Linked DNA regions of Homo sapiens: region 2 is linked to region 1. Evidence: promoter capture Hi-C in human tissues and cell types (Jung and others, 2019). All regions are on one chromosome and are shown on one strand. Each heading gives the region's core, a stretch centred on a gene start or on the middle of the fragment in contact. The rest is flanking DNA. Distances are from core to core; before and after follow the strand shown.

What was found. Contacts are between HindIII fragments. The study calls those that stand out against the background at their distance.
Region 2: a fragment that was not itself captured here is called in contact with the fragment with the promoter of OR7D4 in region 1 in 1 of the 25 tissues and cell types used here (spleen).

Annotation. Positions count from the first base shown.
Region 1 is chr19:9,216,104-9,221,741 of GRCh38, reverse strand. It overlaps OR7D4 (olfactory receptor family 7 subfamily D member 4), which reads left to right and starts at 2,153. Exons shown (of 2, transcript NM_001005191.3): 1 at 2,153-2,542. It also overlaps a transcript of OR7E24 not described here and the pseudogene OR7D11P. The HindIII fragment of the contact is 21,358 bases long and covers 740-5,638 here.
Region 2 is chr19:9,800,662-9,806,606 of GRCh38, reverse strand. LOC124904635 (a long non-coding RNA gene) reads right to left here. Exons shown (of 3, transcript XR_007067134.1): 3 at 4,191-4,685. Among named protein-coding and RNA genes, the nearest start is that of FBXL12, 15 kb to the left of the region's middle. The HindIII fragment of the contact is 4,629 bases long and covers 614-5,242 here.

The sequences.
Region 1 (5,638 bases), core at 904-3,403:
CATGTGATATGGGGCTAATATCCAAAATACGTAAGAAGCTCAAACAACTCAGTAGGAAGAAAACGACCCAATTTTAAAATGGGCAAAAGACAGCCTGGCGCGGTGGCTCACGCCTGTAATCCCAGCACTTTGAGAGGCAGAGGAGAGCGGATCACGGGGTCAGGAGATCGAGACCACCCTGGCTAACACGGTGATAACCCCGTCTCTACTAAAAATACAAAAAAGTAGCCGGGCGTCGTGGCAGGCGCCTGTAATCCCAGCTACTCGGGAGGCTGAGGCAGGAGAATGGCGTAAACCCGGGAGGCGGAGCTTGCAGCGAGCGGAGATCGCGCCACTGCATTCCAGCCTGGGTGACAGAGCGAGACTCCGTCTCAAAAAAAAAAAAAAAAAAAAAAAAAAAAGGGCAAAAGACCTGAAAGACATTTGTCAAAAGAAGACACACAGATGGACAACATACATTTTTTTTTTCTTGAGACGAGTCTCGCTCTGTCACCCAGGCTGGAGTGCAGTGGCGCGATCTCGGCTCACTGCAAGCTCCCCCTCCCGGGTTGAAGTCATTCTCCTGCCTCAGCCTCCCAAGTAGCTGGGACTACAGGCGCCCGCCACCACGCCCGGCTAATTTTTTGTATTTTTAGTAGGGACGGGGTTTCACCTTTAGCCAGGATGGTCTCGATCGCCTGACCCTGTGATCCGCCCGTCTAGGCCTCCCAAAGTGCTGGGATTACAGGCGTGAGCCACTGCGCCCGGCCCAACATACATTTTTAAAAGGTTTAACTTCACTAATCATCAGGGAAATGCAAATGAAAACCACAATGAGATATCACCTCACTTCATCTCAAATGGCTATTACTAAAAAGACAAAAGATAGTAAGTGCTGGCCAGGATATGAAGAAATGGAAACCCTTCTACACTGTTGGTAGGAATGTAAATTAGTACAACCATTATGGAAAAGAGTATGGAGGTTCCTCAAAAACTTAAAAATAGAACTACCATATGATCCAGCAGTCCACTACTGGGTATATATCAATAAGAAACGAAGTCAGTGTGTGGAAGGGATATCGCACTCCCATGTTTATTGGAGCATTATTCACAGTAGCCAAGACACAGAATCAACCTAGTTGTCTGCAAATAAATGAATGGATAAAGAAAATGTAGTATATATACACAATGGAATATGATTCATCCATAAAACACAAGGAAATCCTGTCATTTGCAACATGGATGAACTCAGAGAACATTGTGTTAAGTGAAATAAGGGAGGCACAGAAAGACAAATATCACATGATCTCACTCATATGTGGAATCTAACGAAGGTGATCTCAGAGAAATAGAATCCAGATTTCAAAGAAGTAGAATGTTGGTTACCAGACCCAGAGTGGTTTGGGGTTGAGGAGTAGTGTTGGTGTTGTGGAGATGTTAGTAAAAGAATACAAAATTACAGCTATATAAGAGAAGTAAGTTCAAGAGATCTATTGTACAGCAGGATGACTTTAGTTAATGATGATATATATGATATTCTTTGAAAATGCTAAGAGAGTGGATATTAAGTGTTCTCACCAGGATAACGACTCTGTGAGATAATGCGTATGTTAATTAGATACATTGAATGTCCACAATGTATATATATTTCCAAATATCAAGTTGTACATGATACATACATATAATTCTATAATTTAAAAAAATATATAAAAATAATTTGAAAAAATATTTAAAAAGAAAAGACATTTTTGTTTCCATGAATTTTCAACACCGAGGGATCCATAAAATCTCCAAAGACTCTTCAAGGGAGTCACATCGCTTGGAGATGATTCCTGAGTTTAGTTCCTTGCAGAAATTAATCTTTCCTTAGGGCAAAACTTGTGACTTTCAAATTAAACCGAAGAAAGAATTTCTTCTTGGGGGAAATAAATCCATCATGCCCTACCACTGCCTATTTCATCACAAAATTAACTGAAAAATTTCCATTCTATCATCTTCTTACTACTCAAAGGGAGCCAAACTCTTTGGAGAGTGGGAAGAAAATAGAACAATTTATTTAATAAGGTGCTCTGAGAATTCAACTCTTGAGACACTGGAAACTTAAAATGTGCCCCTGTTTAAACAACCTCACCTGTAATTCTCTGCTCCCAGCCTTTGGAAAAAACCCAGTACGGCTTCCTAGGAACAGATCGTGTAGAAGAGAAAACTTCAGTGATAACCATCAGAGTTAGTGTGACCCAGTGAGGGCTGGTGGGGTAAGAAGGAAAAGAGGAGAGAGAATAAGTACTAGCCTTCACAGTAATGAGCCTGGAAAGTCCCATACTTATTGAGTCTATGAAGGTGAAGTCCCTGTACTTTGATGGTACTTTAGTTTTCACAGAAACCAGTGTCTCCCACCTTCTGTTCTCACTCCTTGGAATCCAGGGCCCGTCTTTAATAAGTTATTTTCCGAACAGTCTCTAACTCTCCTGCACTCTTTCCTATAAACTTTAGTCTCCTGTTGAATTTCGTACATCCAGTTACTTATTCATTAACTACTCACGGAAGATCTACTATGCTCAAGGTATTGTCTATGTGTTCCTAATGTGATTGGATTTTTCTATTATATTCTATATTTTTCCTGGCAGATTATTGGTTACCAGACCCAGAGTGGTCTGGGGATTGGGGGTAGGGTTGATGTGGTGGAGATGGTGACTTATTTACAGCACTTACTAGCTGTTATGTTTTTGCTATTTCAACTTAGTATCCATGATATCATATAGAAATAATACAATTATTTCTGACATTCAACATGCAGTCCAATTTTTTTTCTCATATTAAAAATCCCTTGGCTGAACGTAGTGGCTCACATCTATAATCCCAGCACTTTGGGAGGCCGAGGCGGGCAGATCACTTGAGGCCAGGACCCTGAGACCAGCCTGGCTAACATGGCAAAACCCTGTCTCTACTAAACAATAACAAAAAAAGAAAGCCTGACACCTTAGCTTACACCTGCAATCCCAGTTACTCGGGAGACTGAGATGGGATAATTGCTTGAACCCAGGAGGCAGAGGTTGCAGTAAGCTGAGACTGCACCCCGCACTCCAGCCCAGGTGACAAAGTGACACCATGTCCCCCCCAAAAAAAAATCCATTTGCATGTTCACCAAAATATCAAAAGATTGAAATTGTAGTAGACGGCCTTTGGTGTATCCAGGAATTTAAACCCCTTACTGTTTTAACATAGCATATCTTGTTGCCTGTGGTATTAAAACAACCATTGTTTATCGGGTTAAGCAATTGTCCTTGGTTTCTTCCTTTATTGAGAGGATCTGCCCTGGTTGATAATCTTTTTCAAATGCATTTTTTCTATTGTGATTTTGTTTATGATTTCTCTTTACTGACCTGTTTTTGTGATGAATTATGCAGACATTCTTACATTAAACCTGCTTCCATTGTTAGAGCTGGTATTACTACTTCATTTATCATTATTTTAAAAGAGATATGAATATGTTATTTACTGTATTATTAAATTTATGTCTATATTCAAACATGTCTTAAACTTGAAGATTTCTATTTTGTGTTATAGTTGATGCTTTGGTCCCAGTCTTTATAGAACATTTCAATTTGTACTTGCTCAGAATCAGTAATGTGCTGGGCACCACGTAAATCCTTGTTAAATGATGAGACAAAACAATCGCAACCACTGTCTAAAACTAAATATAAGTTGACCAATGTGAAAGGGACAAGGAGGAAGAATATAGGATGTTCTATTTCTAGTCATCAAATACATATCCCGCTTTCATTCCCTGCTCCCCATCTCACTGGCATCTCAAATCCCTTCCTTTACAAGCTCAATGACCCATGGGACAATCTCGAATTCTCTTCTGTCAGCCTAGAAGATTTACCCTTTCCTTTCCTTACTTCCCCTAATTAACAATGATCCGGCCAGGTGCAGTAGCTCATGTCTGTAATCCCAGCATTTTGGGAGGCCGAGGTGGGCAGATCACTTGAGGTCAGTAGTTCGAGACCAGCCTGGCTAACAAGGTGAAACCCTGTCTCTACTAAAAATAAAAAAATTAGCTGAGCGTAGTGGCACACACCTGTAATCCCAGCTACTCAGGAGGCTGAGACAGGAGAATCGCTTGAACCTGGGAGGCAGAGGTTGCAGTGAACAGAGATAGCACCACTATACTCCAGCCTGGGCAACAGATCGAGATTCCATCTCCAAACAAACAAACAAACAAACCAATGATCCATTCTTCCTCTCTCAGCCCAAATTTTCCTATCTCAGAGAAGCCTCTTCTATCCACTTTCCAGGACTAAAGTTGGTCTTCAGTGATTATTTTTCCATCTTTAATTAATCAACATTCTCTAGGCATAAATAGTAACAACCTTTTTTCCATCATGAAAAATGCAAATTTTTTTTCAAACCTCAAAGTTGCCCTTTAGTTTTTTAGGATGATTTGATTTATAGAAATTTTTAAATTTTTATATCAAACTTATCAGTCACATTTCTTGGCAATTCATTGCCCTGATATTAGTCCAACATTCCCACTCAACTGCATGTGTACACAAGCACACATTCTCTCAGGCCTTGTCTTTGATTCTAATGGCGGTGTCCCTTTCTTTTCTCATCTTGTGTATGTAGTCCACAGGCTTTTGTTACTTCTTGGAGGAATACACTGGGCAGACATTCTCTGAAGCAGGGAAGCATAGGGATCTTCATGAGTTGAGAGTCCTGTGTGGTGGTCACAAGACGTAACAGACCTGTTGTATTCACAGTGATCAGAATTCCATCCTTGATGGCTGCCCCATGTAAGGGGGATATTGATATTGATAAATGATAGCCATGAAAGACAGATTTATTGTAATGTTAAAAACAAAAGTTCAGGCTGGGCACAGTGGCTCATGCCTGTAATCTCAGCACATTGGGAGGCCAAGGTGGGTGGATCACTTGAGCCCAGGAGTTCAAAACCAACCTGGCCAACATGGTGAAACCCCATCTCTACTAAAAATAGAAAAATTAGCTGGGCATGGTGGTGCATGCCTGTGGTCCCAGCTACTTGGGAGGCTGAGGCACAAGAATCACTTGAACCCAGGAGGCAGAGGTTGCAGTGAGCCAACATTGCACCACTGCACTCCAGCCTGGTCAACAGAGTGAGACTCTGTCTCAAAAAAAAAAGCAAAAGAACAAAAGTTCATATGTGTGAAATATCCATTGTATGACACAGAAATCATAGTAGACAAATGACATGGATAATCTCATTTAATTTCACTCTTCAATATTCCCACATAGGGAGTATTTACTACTCCTACTATGGAGGTGAGGTAGCTGCAGCTAAGACAGTTCAAATAACTTTCTCTATGGTATACAGTAGTAAGTTGGTGGATTCACATAGTTTGGCTGTGTCCCTACACAGTGAACCAGAGGCAGGTCACAGAAGAAATGTGGAATTTCAGTGCCTATAGAGAAGGTCAACCTCTTCATCAGAAGAACATGAACCAGGGAGACCCAGAAAATGATAAATCAAGATGCCAGAACAAGGAGGCCACAGAGGCAGGAGTTCATGATGACTGTGGGGTGCAGGGGGTGGCAGATCTCATCTTGAATTCCCATGTGTAATGGGAGGGACCCAGTGGGAGGAAATTGAATCATGGAGACAGGTCTTTCCCATGCT
Region 2 (5,945 bases), core at 1,679-4,178, 580 kb before region 1:
TCACCCAAGCTGGAGTGCAGTGGTGTGACTGTAGCTCACTGCAGCCTCGAACTCCTGGGTTCAAGCAATCTTCCCACCTCATCCTCCCCAGCAGCTGGGAATACAGGCATGCACCACCACACCTGGCTAATTTTTAAAAAGAATTATTATTATTATTATTTTGTAAAGACGTGGTCTCACTGTGTTGCCCAGGTTGGTCTCAAACTGCTTGGCTCAAGCGATCCTCCTGCCTCAGCCTCCCGAAGTGGTGAGATTACAGGCGTGAGCCACCACACCCAGCCTACTGAGTGCTTCTTATGTGGCAGGCACTGTGCTCAGTCCTTCATGCATGGACTCCTATAAGCAGCCCACTGAGGGAGGTAGAGATGAAGACACTGAGGCACAGAGAAGTTAAGTTGCCCAAAGCAACATAGCTGGTAAAGTAGAACCTGAGTAATTTTACTCCACAATCTTGCCCAGGATATAAAGCTGCCATGCTGCCATGCAATAGTATCTGAAGGGAGGCCCAGTAACTGGGCCCTATTAGGGGCTGTGAAGGCAATCATGACTCCATCTTGGATGCCAACTGCCATCTTGACTTCTGCTTAACCCAAGTCCTGAGAACAACTCCAACATTTCTAGATTTTTTTTTTTTTTTGAGACGGAGTTTTTGTTTTTGTAGCCCAGGTTGGAGTGCAATGGTGCAATCTTAGCTCACTGCAACCTCTGCCCCCAAGGTTCAAGAGATTCCTGCCACAGCCTTCTGAGTAGCTGGGATTACAGGTGCCCACCACCATACCCAGCTAATTTTTTGTATTTAATAGAAATGGGGTATCACCATGTTGGTCAGGCTGGTCTCAAACTCCTGACCTCAGGTGATCCACCCACCTTGGCCTCCCAAAGTGCTGGGATTACAGGCATGAGCCACTGTGCCCCACCTACTTTTTTTTTTTTTTTTTTGAGACAGAGTCTTATTCTGTCCCTCAGGCTGGAGTGCACTGGCCCAATCTCGACTCACTGTAACCTCCCTCACCTGGGTTGAAGCAATCCTCCCACCTCAGCCTCCCAAGTAATTGAGACTACAGGTGCACACTACCATGCCTGGTGGTTTTTTGTTTTTTTTTGTTTTTTGTTTTAAGACATAGGGTTTCGTCATGTTGCCCAGGCTGGTCTTGAACTCTTGGGCTCAAGCCATCCGCCCACCTTGGCCTCCCAAAGTGCCGGGATTACAGGCATGAGCCACTGCACCCAGCCAGGATTTCTACTTTATTTACTGTTCTTGTGTAAGAACATATACTCGCCATAGATCCTGCCCTTGGACCAAAGCAGCCTTGATGTTATTGTATAAATTACAGGCTATGACACATATCACATTCTTACCTGTCTGGAGGGTTAACTTGGCCTACACATTCTTTAGGAAAAAAAGAAAAAATTTTTTTTCGAGACAGGGTCTTGCTTTGTTGCCCAGGCCAGAGCGCATCATGGCTCATCTCAGCCTTGACCTCCAGGGCTGTAGTGTTCCTTACCCTCTCAGCCACACAAGTACCTGGGACTATAGGCACATGCCACCATGCCCAGCTAATTTTTCTTTTTTTGTAGAGATGGGGTCTCACCATATTGCCCAGGCTGGTCTCAAAGTTTTGGGCTCAAGCGATCTGCCTGCCACAGCCTCCCAAAGTGCTGGGATTACAGGTGTGAACTACTCACCATGCCCAGCCCCTACAGCTTCACTGAGGTATAATTAACATGTAATAAATTGCACATATGGCCGAGCGCGGTGGCTCACGCCTGTAATCCCAACACTGGGAGGCAGAGGCAGGCGGATCACCTGAGGTCGGGAGTTCGAGACCAGCCTGACCAACATGGAGAAACCCCGTCTCTACTAAAAATACAAAATTAGCCGGACGTGGTGGCACATGTCTGTAATCCCAGCTACTCGGGAGGCTGAGGCAGGAGAATCGCCTGCACCTGGGAGGCGGAGGTTGCGGTGAGCCGAGTTCACACCATTGCACTCCAGCCTGGGCAACAAGAGCGAAACTCCATCTCAAAAAAAAAAAAAAAAAAAAAGTTTAAATTTACCTATAGCGTGGAAGCTTCCTGCTTTGAGTTGTCCTGCTTTTCTGGACCAAGCCAATGTATTTATTAAATGTGTTTGATTGATGTCTCATGTCTCCCTAAAATATATAAAACCAAGCTGCACCCCAACCACTTTTGTCACATGTTCTCAGGACATCCTGAGGGCTGTGTCGTGGGCCATGGTCACTCATATTTGGCTCAGAATAAATCTCTTCAAATATTTTACAGAGTTTGACTCTTTGTCAACCATTGCCTTTGCAAAAATAATAATCAGGACAGTCGAGGTGGCTCACGCCTGTAATTCCAACATTTTGTGAGGCTGAATGAACTCCAGAATGGGCAGGTCATTTGAGCCTGGGGAGGTCGAGGCTGCAGTGAGCTGTGATTGCACCTCTGCACTCTAGCCTGGGTAACAGAGTGAGACCCTGTCTCAAAAAAATATATATCAGAAAATTATGACAGTGAAAGAGATCTGAGCCAATCCACCCCCCATCTTCCCTTTCCCTTAATATTTCCTGGGCTATTGGGCTGAGGTAACTTTAAGAAACATTTAGGCTATAGTTTAGGTGATAATAAGCTTTGCCTAAAACTCAATCGCTTTGGTAAAACTAATGGGGAGCCATCAGCAGGAGAGGAGCCTGATTCCTGCAAAGGCGCAGAAATGTATGTCAGCCACTATTCCAGAGGTTATGAGATATGCAACTTCCCCAATTACTCCTGCAAATAACACCACTATTGCAGAACCCCAGATTGGCCTTTGGAGATACCCTTTCAGGTTTTATTGCATGTCTGACACCTAACACTCCTCATGGACCCGTCAACCCTGCTCCTATGGCCCCACCCAAAATCGATTCAGCCTGTAGGAGGAAGGCTTCGACCCCCCTATGATTGCATCTGCCCCAACCAATCAGCAGCAAGCACCTGTTACTCTGCCATCCCCACCCGTTCCCCCAAACTGTCTTTGGAAAACCCCTAACCTAGGAGCTTTGAGATGATTTGAGTAGGAACTTCGACTCCCACGTGGCATGGCCAGCCTCATGTCCACTAAACTCTTCCTTTACTACAATGCCATTGTCTTTCTTTATGCAGTGGGCAGGAAGAACCCTCCGGCAATTACAGCTTGAGCCCAGGAATTCGATGCCAGCCTAAGCAATGTCGACGAAAAGCGTCAAACTCTGTAAAATATTTTAAGAGATTCATTCTGAGCCAAATATGAGTGACCATGGCCGGTGATACAGCCCTCAGGAGGCCAGGAGAACATGTGCCCAAGGTGACTGGGGTGCAGTTGGTTTTGTACATTTTAGGGAGACATGAGACTTCAATCAAATACATTTAAGAAATATATTGGCCGGGCGCGGTGGCTCACGCCTGTAATCCCAGCCCTTTGGTAGGCCGAGGTGGGCGGATCACATGAGGTCAGAGTTCGAGACCAGCCTAACCAAGATGGTGAAACCCCGTCTCTACTAAAAATACAAAATTAGCCGGGTGTGGTGGCACGCGCCAGTTATCCCAGCTACTCAGGAGGCTGAGGCAGGAGAATCGCTTGAACCAGGGAGGCGGAGGTTGCAGTGAGCGGAGATGGCACCACTGCACTCCAGCCTGGGTGACAGAGCGAGACACCGTCTCAAAAAAAAAAAAAAAAAAAAAGGAAAAGAAATACATTCATTTGTTCCAGAATGGCAGGACAGCTCAAACCGGGAGCTGGGGTGGGGTGGGAGTGGGGATTCCAGCTTATAGGGAGATTAAAACTTTTTTTCTTTTTTTGAGAGGAGGCTTGAGGTTGTGGAGACCCAAGTTCTTTTTTTTTTTTTTCTTTTTTCTTTTTTGAGATGGAGTCTCGCTCTTGTTGCCCAGCCTGGAGTGCAATGGCACCATCTCGGCTCACTGCAACCTCCACCTCCCGGGTTCAAGCGATTCTCCTGGCTCAGCCACCAGAATAGCTGGGATTACAGGCGCCCGCCACCATGCCCGGCTAATTTTTTTTTTTTTTTTTTTCGGAGACGCAGTCTCGCTCTGTCGCCCAGGCTGGAGTGCAGTGGCACGACCTCAGCTCACTGTAACCTGCGCCTACCGGGTTCCAGCAATTCTCCTGCCGCAGCCTCCTGAGTAGCTAGGATTACAGGTGTGTGCCACCACGACCGGCTAATTTTTGTATTTCTAGTAGAGACGGGGTTTCGTCATGTTGGCCAGGCGGGAGACCCAAGTTCTTATTTCCAGAGGAAGCCTCCAGGTACTAGACTTCAGAGAGAATAGGTTGTAAAATGTTTATCCGACAGACCTGGGGGCGTGGCTTCCAATGAAGACCAGCCCCAGAAGGCCGGGCTGGGAGACTGCGAAGTCGGAGGGGTTGAGGGGACTTCAGGCAGAGTGGGTGGAGCAAAGGAGAGGGCTCAGGCTTGGGGGCGGGACTTGGGTGGGTCCTCCATTCTGGTTGGCCAAGCCTCTATGTCCCAAATAAAAGTCTCTACCTTCCCGAGAACTTATTACAATAGAACACCAGATTTCCAGAGGTATCTGCCAGTCCACAGAGTGAATCACGTTTCCATTCATCCCGTTTCTTCTATAGGCCCTTGAAGAGAGTTTTAACATTTTCTTCTTAAATCGGTTGTATCTTTCGGTGAGGTTAACTCCTAGAGATTACATATAAATACATTTAGGTTTTTTGCTCTTTTTTCCAACCGATGGTTATTGAGGAGTTCTGAGAGATGAGAAATGTGCTGATTTAAATCACAAATGTAGGCCAGACGCAGTCGCTCACACCTGTAATCCTGGCACTTTGGGAGGTTGAGGCAGGGTCCTTTGAGCCCAGGAGTTCTAGACCAGCCTGGGCAACATGGGGAGACCCTGTCTCTATGAAACATTAAAATTAAAATTAAAAAAAGAAAAATAAATAGCCCGGGCGCGATGGCTCAAGCCTGTAATCCCAGCACTTTGGGAGGCCGAGGCGGGTGGATCACCTGAGGTCAGGAGCTCGAGACCAGCCTGAACAATATTGTGAAACCCGCTTATACTAAAAATACAAAAAATTAGTTGGGCGTGGTGGCGGGCGCCTGTAATCCCAACTACTTGGGAGGCTGAGGCACCAGAATAGCTTGAATCCGGGAGGCGGAGGTTGCAGTGAGCCGAGATGGTGCCATTGCACTCCAGCCTGGGCGACAAGAGCAAAACTCTGTCTCAAACGAAACAAAACAAACCAAAAACCCAATAAAATACAAAAATTAGCTGCGCGTGGTGGTGCACACCTGTAATCCCAGCTACTCGGGAGGCTGAGGCAGGAGAATCGCTTCAACCTGGGAGGCGGAGGTTGCAGTGAGCCGAGATGGCGCCACTGCACTCCAGCCTGGGTGACAGACTGAGACTCCTTCTCTATATAAAAAAAAAAAGAAATAGAAAAAAGAAAAATGAATAGGCCGGGCACGGTGGCTCACGCCTGTAATCCCAGCACTTTGGGAGGCCGAGGCGGACGGATCACTTGATGTCAAGGGTTCGAGACCAGCCTGGCTAACACGGTGAAACCTCGTTTCTACTAAAAATACAAAAAGTTATCCGGGCATAGTGGTGCGTGCTTGTAATCCCAGCTAGTCGGGAGGCTGTGGCAGGAGAATTGCTTGAACTCGGAAGGCGGAGTTTGCAGTGAATCAAGATCACACCACTGCACTCCAGCCTGGGTAACAGAGGGAGACTCCGTCTCTTAAAAAAAAAAAAAGGAAAATAAATAAATAAAGTAGATCACAGATATAAAATAGTGTCCAGATGAAACAATAGATGCCCAACATCCTGGAATGGGACATCAATTAAAATAATAAAAATAGAAAAGAACAAGAGATGCCCAGCAAATAGTTATTTTCACTTTCCCCCTAACGAAGGGTGAAGAGGTCTACAAATGTTCG